Linked DNA regions of Homo sapiens: region 1 is linked to region 2. Evidence: promoter capture Hi-C in 16 types of primary human blood cells and fetal thymus (Javierre and others, 2016). All regions are on one chromosome and are shown on one strand. Each heading gives the region's core, a stretch centred on a gene start or on the middle of the fragment in contact. The rest is flanking DNA. Distances are from core to core; before and after follow the strand shown.

What was found. Contacts are between HindIII fragments. The CHiCAGO score rates a contact against its expected background, and 5 or more counts as called.
Region 1: a fragment that was not itself captured here is called in contact with the fragment with the promoter of PEX5 in region 2 in 1 of 17 cell types (erythroblasts); the score reaches 6.6 in erythroblasts.

The regions. Positions count from the first base shown.
Region 1 is chr12:7,432,792-7,437,209 of GRCh38, forward strand. CD163L1 (CD163 molecule like 1) reads right to left here. Exons shown (of 20, transcript NM_174941.6): 3 at 583-903. Among named protein-coding and RNA genes, the nearest start is that of CD163L1, 9.2 kb to the right of the region's middle. The HindIII fragment of the contact is 2,053 bases long and covers 1,058-3,110 here.
Region 2 is chr12:7,188,061-7,192,452 of GRCh38, forward strand. PEX5 (peroxisomal biogenesis factor 5) reads left to right here and starts at 1,626. Exons shown (of 16, transcript NM_001351132.2): 1 at 1,626-1,690; 2 at 2,302-2,464; 3 at 2,828-2,863; 4 at 3,166-3,298; 5 at 3,509-3,640. The coding sequence starts at 2,318. RefSeq lists enhancers at 111-612, 613-1,112, 1,423-1,482, 1,483-2,199, 2,193-2,342 and 2 more and silencers at 523-572, 1,593-2,002. The HindIII fragment of the contact is 37,708 bases long and covers 1-4,392 here.

The sequences.
Region 1 (4,418 bases), core at 834-3,333, 250 kb after region 2:
AAAATCAAAAGGATACGTAGAAGACAGCCCTGTTATGAATGAAGTTACCAAAAATTAAAAAAAAATAACTGAAAATACTTATAGGAGGGGTATGTGAGGCTTTTTTCTAAACACAAATACACAAACAAAAAAAATCCTAGGTGAAAAAATCAATCATTAGCATGATATTCTTTATCATTTTGCTTTAATTTTATACCTCATTTTTCAGAAAATATTTGTTCTGTTAGTGTACCTGGTACATGAAAAAAGGCACTTAAATCAAAGCTAACCCTGCTCCCAAACTTCTTCATTTCTTTCTAAACTCAATTATAGTTATGATAAAGATATTACATTGGTAACTGTAATGCATTCTCTCTCTGTCTCTCTCTTTCTCTCTCCATTTCTTTCTAAACTCAGTTATAGTTATAAAAAGAAAAGCAATTAGACATTACTTTGGAAATAAGGGAAGGGTAGAATATATAAAATATTTCCTACACCTCCCAGAGGGACACTATTAAAGTCATAATAGAAACCCCTACCTTCCAGCAGATGATTCCTGAGGGTAGGTCTTACCTTGCCTTCCTACTCTAGTTAGACTCTTACCATAACAGTTCACACCAACATCTTCTCCATGATAACAGTTATGGCTTCCCCATTCCCGGTGTTGACATTCCCAGAGAGCTGACTCATTTCCATAACAGGAAACATCATCAAGCCAAATTTTTCCATGTCTAGTCACGGCTTGTCCAAAACGAAACATGGCGAAAGAAAATGGACATCCAAGCTGTTTGCACACGACAGTTGAGGCAGTAGTGTTCCACCCATCATCACACACAGTCCCCCACTGTCCCTGGAATTTCACCTCCACTGTCCCAGAGCAGGGACCGTCTCCATTGACCAGCCTCAACTCCAAATCTGTTCCATCTGCAAGAAAGACAGAAACATACATTAGAGATGGCAAAGATTAGAAGGCAGAAATAATATAAGTAGGTGAGATGGATGATGATCATTTAGTTTAAATGTTGTTATTAGAACTTATAGTAGAGAGAAAATAAAAATGAGAAAATTTGAAGTGAGAAGCTTTAATTTTTCATGATAGGGAACTAGAGACCACATTGCAGCATAGTTTTGCTTTGCATTGTAATGTGAAAATTAAAAGAAGGGAAAGAATTTTTTCTTTCTATGCAATTCCCACCAATATAAACCACAGAAAAGGTAAGGTTTGCTGTTGTGCACGCAGAATGAAAGAAAGTCCCTTGGCTAGTCAGTTTCAAAATAATCTGTATCTGAGGAGTCCACCTCACATTTTTGAAGGAGATGTTTTATATACTTAATAATTGAAAACATCTTGTAAGGTTGACATAATAATTTTCTACTCAATAAAATCTACAGCATTAAATACTTTTGAGTATTTATATCCTCAGATGTTTTAAATACATTCAACAATAGGCCTTGCAGGAGGAGAAGACCTAGTCGTCCATGATTGTAATATGCTAGTCCACCTTCTCTAATCAACAGCTATGTGAATCACAGGTAGACAACCACTTCAGAAAGGGCAGTCCTTCAGATGACCATTGGCTACTCATATTCCCATCTTAAAAATTTGAAATAAGTAAAATGGATTTTAAAAAATCCTAGGTGAAAAAATCAACTTAAAACAAGTGAAGTTAATATTAACCCAAATCTACTTGTAAGCCAAAATTTTGAGGAACAGACAATAAAAATTTAAATGGAAAACCAATGTGAAGGGAGAAAATTTTAAAGCAACCATGAGTTTTCAACGTGAAACTTTATGGTGAATTCTGTGCATATGATGATGATGAGAGGGTGTGTTAGTAAGAAGAGCAAGTGAGCCAAAGGGACAAAGAGAAGCAATAAGGAGGAAGAAAAAGATGAAAAAAGAGAAAGAAAAAGAAGGAGAGAGGAAGAGACAGAAAGAGAGAGAGACAGACAGAGACAGAGAGAGAAACAGGGAGAGAGAGTACAATAGAAAAGGCTTCCCAGTTCTGAGTTTCAGTACACAATGGCTTAGTGAGAATACACTTTTCACAAAAGATAACAATATTCTTTCTGAAAGTGGATTGTGAGTTAACCATAAGTCTTCATTCAGTGTGGTCTTGCCTATACTATACTCATAACTAGAAATTTTGGTTTCCTTATATTTCTCTTTCTCAGTTCCTAGTGCTGCTACTGTTTCCTATTTCTTTCTATATGAACATTTTTCTTTTTAGTTGAAATGTGTGTGAGGGGCATTCTAATGGCTGTGCTCATATCATATAACTCTTAAGTCTAATGAAAGCTCTTAAAAATGTAGTTGATACACACACACACAGAGATATATTCTAATATGATTGATATTTGCCATTTCTATTTTTTCAATATACTGATTAAGGTGTTTTTTTCAACGTGTACATTAGAATTTCTACTAATTTTTAGACATACCAAATTTCTACCAAGGTGTGATAAAATTAAAGAAAACTTGATAAATTAAGAACTTCTATTCTTCAAAATACACTCTATAAAAAGTGAAAAGTCACAAATGTGAAGAATATATTAGCAACATATATTATGACTATGGACTAGTATCTAGATTATATTTTTTAAATATATATATTTAGAAAAATAAGCAAAATGGGCAAATGAGTTGAACAGATATTTCACAGAAGAAAACAAAAGGCATGACCATTAAATACATGGAGAAATGCCTAAACTTATTAGTCTTTAGGAAACTGAAAATTAAGATAAAAAGATATAGCTTTATACTCTCTTGATTGGCAAAAATTTAGAACTCTGAATATTTAAAATATGAGTGAGGATATGAGTCATATCCTCATACATATATTTGAAAATATATATACATTGCTAGCAGAATTCATCCTATCTGGTAAAGTTGAAAACATGCACATCCCAGAACCTGCTAATTCTACTCCTACCTATAGACCGTAGTAAACTCCCATGAATCTGCACCAGAGACATATTTATAGCAGAACATTTGACAATAGTAATGAAAAATCCAAATAACTATTGACAGGATAATAGACAAATTCACTGGGAATATTTATTTATACAAGATAATATATTTTACTTAACGAAAACTTAAATAATTATAGCCATTGCAACAGCAGAGATGAAGCTTAGAAATATAATATTGAAAGATAAAAGCAAGTCCCAGAACACTAAATGCAGTTTGATATGTTATAAAGCTTAAAATAAGCAAAACTAAACAATACATTATTTCTGCATCTATATCTATCATATTATTAGAAAGTATTGTATTATTAAAAAGTAAGGTAGTGAGAAATGCACAATTCAGGATAGACATTATCTCTGGTGGGGTTGGAAGGTAGGTGGAAGAGAAGAGGAAAACATACGTAGAAAAAAATGGTTGATAAAAATCCAGTTTCCTGGTTGAGGGATGGATTTATGTGTGCCATTACATTATGCTTAATGATTTGTATATATGTTATAAAATGGCCATTTTTGTCTAATCAAATATAACATTAAACAGCGAGAAATTTAAAGCATTTTAAAAAGCAAATACATTAATCAAAAATATTTGTAACTGGACAAGAACCAATACTATTTTGGAGTACACAAAGATATAGTAATATTATCTATGATTAAACAGAAATAAGAAAATTGCACAAATAAAGCATTCAATTAAAATAATCATTTCAATACCATGATTAAATCTCAACAGCATTTAAAATGTTAATTTAGCCCAGATGCCATGGCTCATGTCTGTAATTTCAACACTTTGAAAGGCAGAGGTGGGAGGACTGCTTGAGGCCAGGAGTTCCAGATCGGCCTGGACAACATAGTGAGACCCTACCTGTAAAAAATTTTTTTTAATTAGCTGGGTATAGTGGCACACATCTGTAGCTGCACTCCAACCTGGCTGACAGAGTGAAACTCCGTCTCTTTAAAAAAAAGAATCCACTTTAATAACAATAAAATTTTATTTAAACTACAAATTTGGCACTAATGAAAAATATAGAAAATAATGAAAAACCTTAAAAATGACAATTTCTGTGTCAGATCTATGAAATGTAATATATTTGAAAAATTACTGAAATACAAAGCAATTAAATAACTTCAATAATCACTCATAAGGTCTTATTAAAATCTATTTGGGTATATCCAAATGACAGAAAACTACACAGCCAATAAAACAAGGTATCATAAGTGATATGTGATAAAATAAAAATGTTAAAGAACTATATAGGTAATAACCAATATATAAAATATAATGAAATAATTTTCTTGAAACATTATTATAAAAAATGCCACAAATTGGTATTTTAAACAATAGTGTTTTTCTCTGGATGTTAATATATTAACAAATATATATTTTTATTTATTTTATTTATTATTTTTATTATACTTTTATTTTTATTAATAGTATTACTTTTATTTTTATTTTAATAGTATTACTTTTT
Region 2 (4,392 bases), core at 376-2,875:
AAAGTGTTTTACACAACACCTGGATTTTAGTAAACATCAGTTATTATTATTAGCATTCTTCCAAGATCTGCACACAAAGTGAGTTACGGCTAATCAGTTGATAAACTCCTAGCAGAGCAGAAGGTTATGTGTGTTGTGATGTTTAAGTGGTACTGGGAAACTCTGGTTGCCTTGAGGTTCTGAAATTCTACTGTATCAGATGGGTTCCTTTAAACATTGCTCTCTCTAGGGGGTCCTCTTTTTAAAAGTATGCACCTTCTGGAGGGCATCTCTTCATCCTTGTGTGGTTTAGTTTATCAGGTATTTTCCTCACGATGGCAGCCTGAGAACAGGGGACGCCCAAGGGCTGGGATTTGTGTGCTCCGGAAGAAAACGGGGTGTAGAAGTGGGGCCTCTGAAAGAGGGCGAAAAGGCAAGGAAAAGGAGAAATGTTGCACAGTCTTATGGTCTGTCCCCTGCCATTCTGTTCCCCTGAGGTGTCAGAGCAGCTTCTCTGTCTTCCCAGGGATGAGTTTACACAGACATTCCCTGTGGCCCCCTGAGGCCTCCACCTCTGAAATCTGCAGAACAGCCAGGAAACAAGCCCGGCCCATGGCGCCACCTGCTGCCTGCCTGCCTCCGCTCATGCACCCTGGGCTGGGATGGTACTTCTGTTCGTCTGGCATTATTGCCCTTGGTCATTTACCGGCAGCCCTGGGCCCCTCCTTGCTCTTCTCCATGACACTAGGACTCCCTTGGTCTTGAAGCTGGGTGAGATTATCAGGGTTTGTTTCTCAATGACTTTGAGGTTTGACAGCAGAGCACACTCTTTGGCAGATGAGGGGGCTTGAGGCTTAGTCTTATTCCGTGATTAAAAGCATTTCTTGTATGTTTGTCCTTTCCCAGCCTGGAGTGATGGGAATAAGGCCACTATGTTGACTTAGCGGAAGGAAGGGCTGACTCACTGTTCACCTTCCCTGTACGTTACCAGCTCGAGGTCTCAGGATGCGTTGGACCCTATTTTGGTCTCCGGAATTTGTCATCATGCAGTGCTATTTTCCCCATTATGCAGAGGTGGAGAGGGATTAAGGCGGGGGCGGGCCCCTGTCTCCATGGAGACAGTGACGCTACCCCGCTAGGGGTTATTTGGAAGCGGGGCAGGCCTAGGAGGCTGAAGAAGGCTTCGGACTGGACTCCCCAGCCCCTGGTGTTAGGGCTTTTCTCTTTCTTGGGCTTGGGAACATTAGCCAGCCCCATTTTAGAGGGGAAAACTGAGGCTCAGAAAGGGCACTGAATCCCCTTAGGTCACAATGCGCCCAAGGGAAGAGGCAGGATCGACTGAGCCTAGGATCTCGCGTCTTCGGCTTTCCCCCAGAGCCTGGGAAGCCCTTCTTAGCTCCACTCTTCTTTGAGCTTTCCGTCAAACAAATCCTAGGGCCCGTGGCCTTTTCGAGCGCTCCTAAAGGCGACTCTCCAAGACCCGCTCTCTAAGGTGCTCTTCCCCTTTAAGACTCACGGCTCTTCCCGTCAGGCTGCGTCGCAGTCTTAAGGCCCCGCCTTTTCAGACAGCTTCCGCTGGGCCTGGGCCGCTGCGGGGCGGTCACGGCCCCTTTAAGCCTGAGCCCCGCCCCCTGGCTCCCCGCCCCCTCTTCTCCCCTCCCCCAAGCCAGCACCTGGTGCCCCGGCGGGTCGTGCGGCGCGGCGCTCCGCGGTGAGCGCCTGACCCCGAGGGGGCCCGGGGCCGCGTCCCTGGGCCCTCCCCACCCTTGCGGTGGCCTCGCGGGTCCCAGGGGCGGGGCTGGAGCGGCAGCAGGGCCGGGGAGATGGGCGGTGGGGAGCGCGGGAGGGACCGGGCCGAGCCGGGGGAAGGGCTCCGGTGACTTAAGGGGAGGGAATGCTCCTCTGCCGTGCTCACCGCGTGCTGGGGCTGCGCGGGGCTAGGTATGGTCGGGCTGTTTTCCCACTGTCCCTTCTTCGGGCAGTGTCGCCGTCCAGCCTGGTTGTTGAAGCGTCCCCGTGGTCCCCCGGGGTCCAGGCCCCTTTGTGGAGGCAGCTGCTGGCCCCCAGCCCATGGGACCGTAGTCGCGGAGGCCTCTGCAGAGGCGCAGGCTGGAAGCGGTGGCCTTTGAGGGGGGCGGCAGGAGAGAGTACCGACCTCCCTCGAACTCCTGGCAGAGGTGGGGGTCGCAGCAAAAGCACTGGGGTGGAGGGCGGCCAGTGTGGGGCAGACGCCTGTGTGCCTTCCTCAGATACGGGCAGAGTTGTGGATGTGAGAAGGGTCTGGCTTGGGTACCTCAGTTCCAAACCTCCTGTGTCCATCAGAGAGCTGGCGGTCACCATGGCAATGCGGGAGCTGGTGGAGGCCGAATGCGGGGGTGCCAACCCGCTCATGAAGCTCGCCGGGCACTTCACCCAGGACAAGGCCCTTCGGCAGGAGGGATTGAGGCCTGGCCCCTGGCCCCCCGGAGCCCCGGCCTCTGAGGCAGTGAGTGTTCTTGAGGTGGAAAGCCCAGGTGCAGCCTCTGAGGCAGTGAGTGTTCTTGAGGTGGAAAGCCCAGGTGCAGCCTCTGAGGCAGTGAGTGTTCTTGAGGTGGAAAGCCCAGGTGGTGGTGGTCTGAGGTGGAGGGGCTGTTTGCACATCTTGGTATAACTGCTTTCTCTATTGTGTTGCAAATCATAGTAGTTACCACTTACTGAGCGTTTATAAACACTAGAAAACCCTGTGCACCTTTAAATAAATGCAACCATTTTATAGATGAAGAAGCCGAGGCTCAGATGCCTATGGGCTTCATCAACCCCTGATTTTAGAGGAACTGCGTCATTGTACATCTCTGTCTTTCTCTCTTAGGCCTCCAAGCCTTTGGGAGTAGCTTCTGAAGATGAGGTAAATAGACCAGTCTCTTTTCTGTCCCATTTTTCTCTTGCCCACTGTGTTTTTACCTTTAAACTTAGTTCACCCGTATTTCAATTTTTGGGCTTTCCTGACCGAATGAGAATGCCTGCTTGTTTTTAAATGTATTTTTTCGTCCTTCTAAATCTATGGAAAGACAGTTTCTCTTTATGTGTCTCCAGTTTCTGTGTTTTCCTTTCCTTGTATCTAACATTGGGATCCCCCTCCAGTGGGTCCTGCCTCTTGCTGGGGCCTCCCAAGCCTATGGGTTCATTTCATCATTTCCCTTCTGGCAGTTGGTGGCTGAATTCCTGCAGGACCAGAATGCACCCCTTGTGTCCCGTGCCCCTCAGACCTTCAAGATGGATGACCTCCTGGCTGAGATGCAGCAGATTGAGCAGTCAAACTTCCGCCAGGCTCCCCAGAGAGGTGAGTCCAGAGTCTAGTGGGAGGGGAGATCGTTTTCCATGTAGCCAGGGCCAAGGAAGGGGGTTCCATTGGATGCTGCTGGCATTGGGGACCTGAGATGCAGAAGGAGACAAAAGTAACAGAGTGTTTTCACGTGGATTCAGGGTTCTTTAGGCATGATGGAATGGTATGTATGTATTCTTTCTTAGTTTTCTCTCTCTCTCTTTTAAGCCCCTGGTGTGGCAGACTTGGCCTTGTCTGAGAACTGGGCCCAGGAGTTTCTTGCAGCTGGAGATGCTGTGGATGTAACTCAGGATTATAATGAGACTGACTGGTCCCAAGAATTCATCTCTGAAGTTACAGGTGAAACTTGTTATGGGAAAATCTATATTGGCTTCTATGGGACAGAATTCTATACCCTTCCCCTGTTCACGTTATAGTGTGATTACGATTTTTCTGGTCTCATGACTCATTTCTAGAGGGGTAGGGTACTGAACTCAATTTCCCTTAGGTGATAACGGAATGTAATGTATATTAAAGAGAGGACTGGGTTTGTACTGGATAAGAGATTTTGGATAGAGAGAACGAAGAGTTTGGTTGGCCTTTTTACTTTATCACTGTGGTTTAGTGGAGAGGATCTACAGATTGGATGGATGGCAGTGTTGCCGAGGAAGAGAGTATTCACTACAGCACCTGGGATTCTGGCCTTAAGTTATTTGGAACAGAATTGGGGCCTTCAGAGTGTTATTGTGAAGTTCCAGTGCCTGAAGTGTATGGCTTTAGAAGGTAAAGACCATACCATGATGATGATAATAAAAATTAATAACAATAGTTACGTTCTAGGCCTTGTGTTACATGCTTTGAATGCATTATCTACTTACTCTCCATGAGAACCCTAGAGGTAGTTACTGTTTTTAGACCTAGTTTAAAGATAAGAAAATTGAGGCTTAGAGGTGAAGTGTGCCCAAGGTTACACAGCTTTGTCAGTGGTAGAGTTGGGATTTGATCCTGGATTTGAATGATTCCTGACCCTGTGGCCTTAACTGTGATGCTATACTGTCAGGCCTGCAATTTATCTTCTTTCTTGCTTTGCTACAGACTTAAAGGTTTCAGCC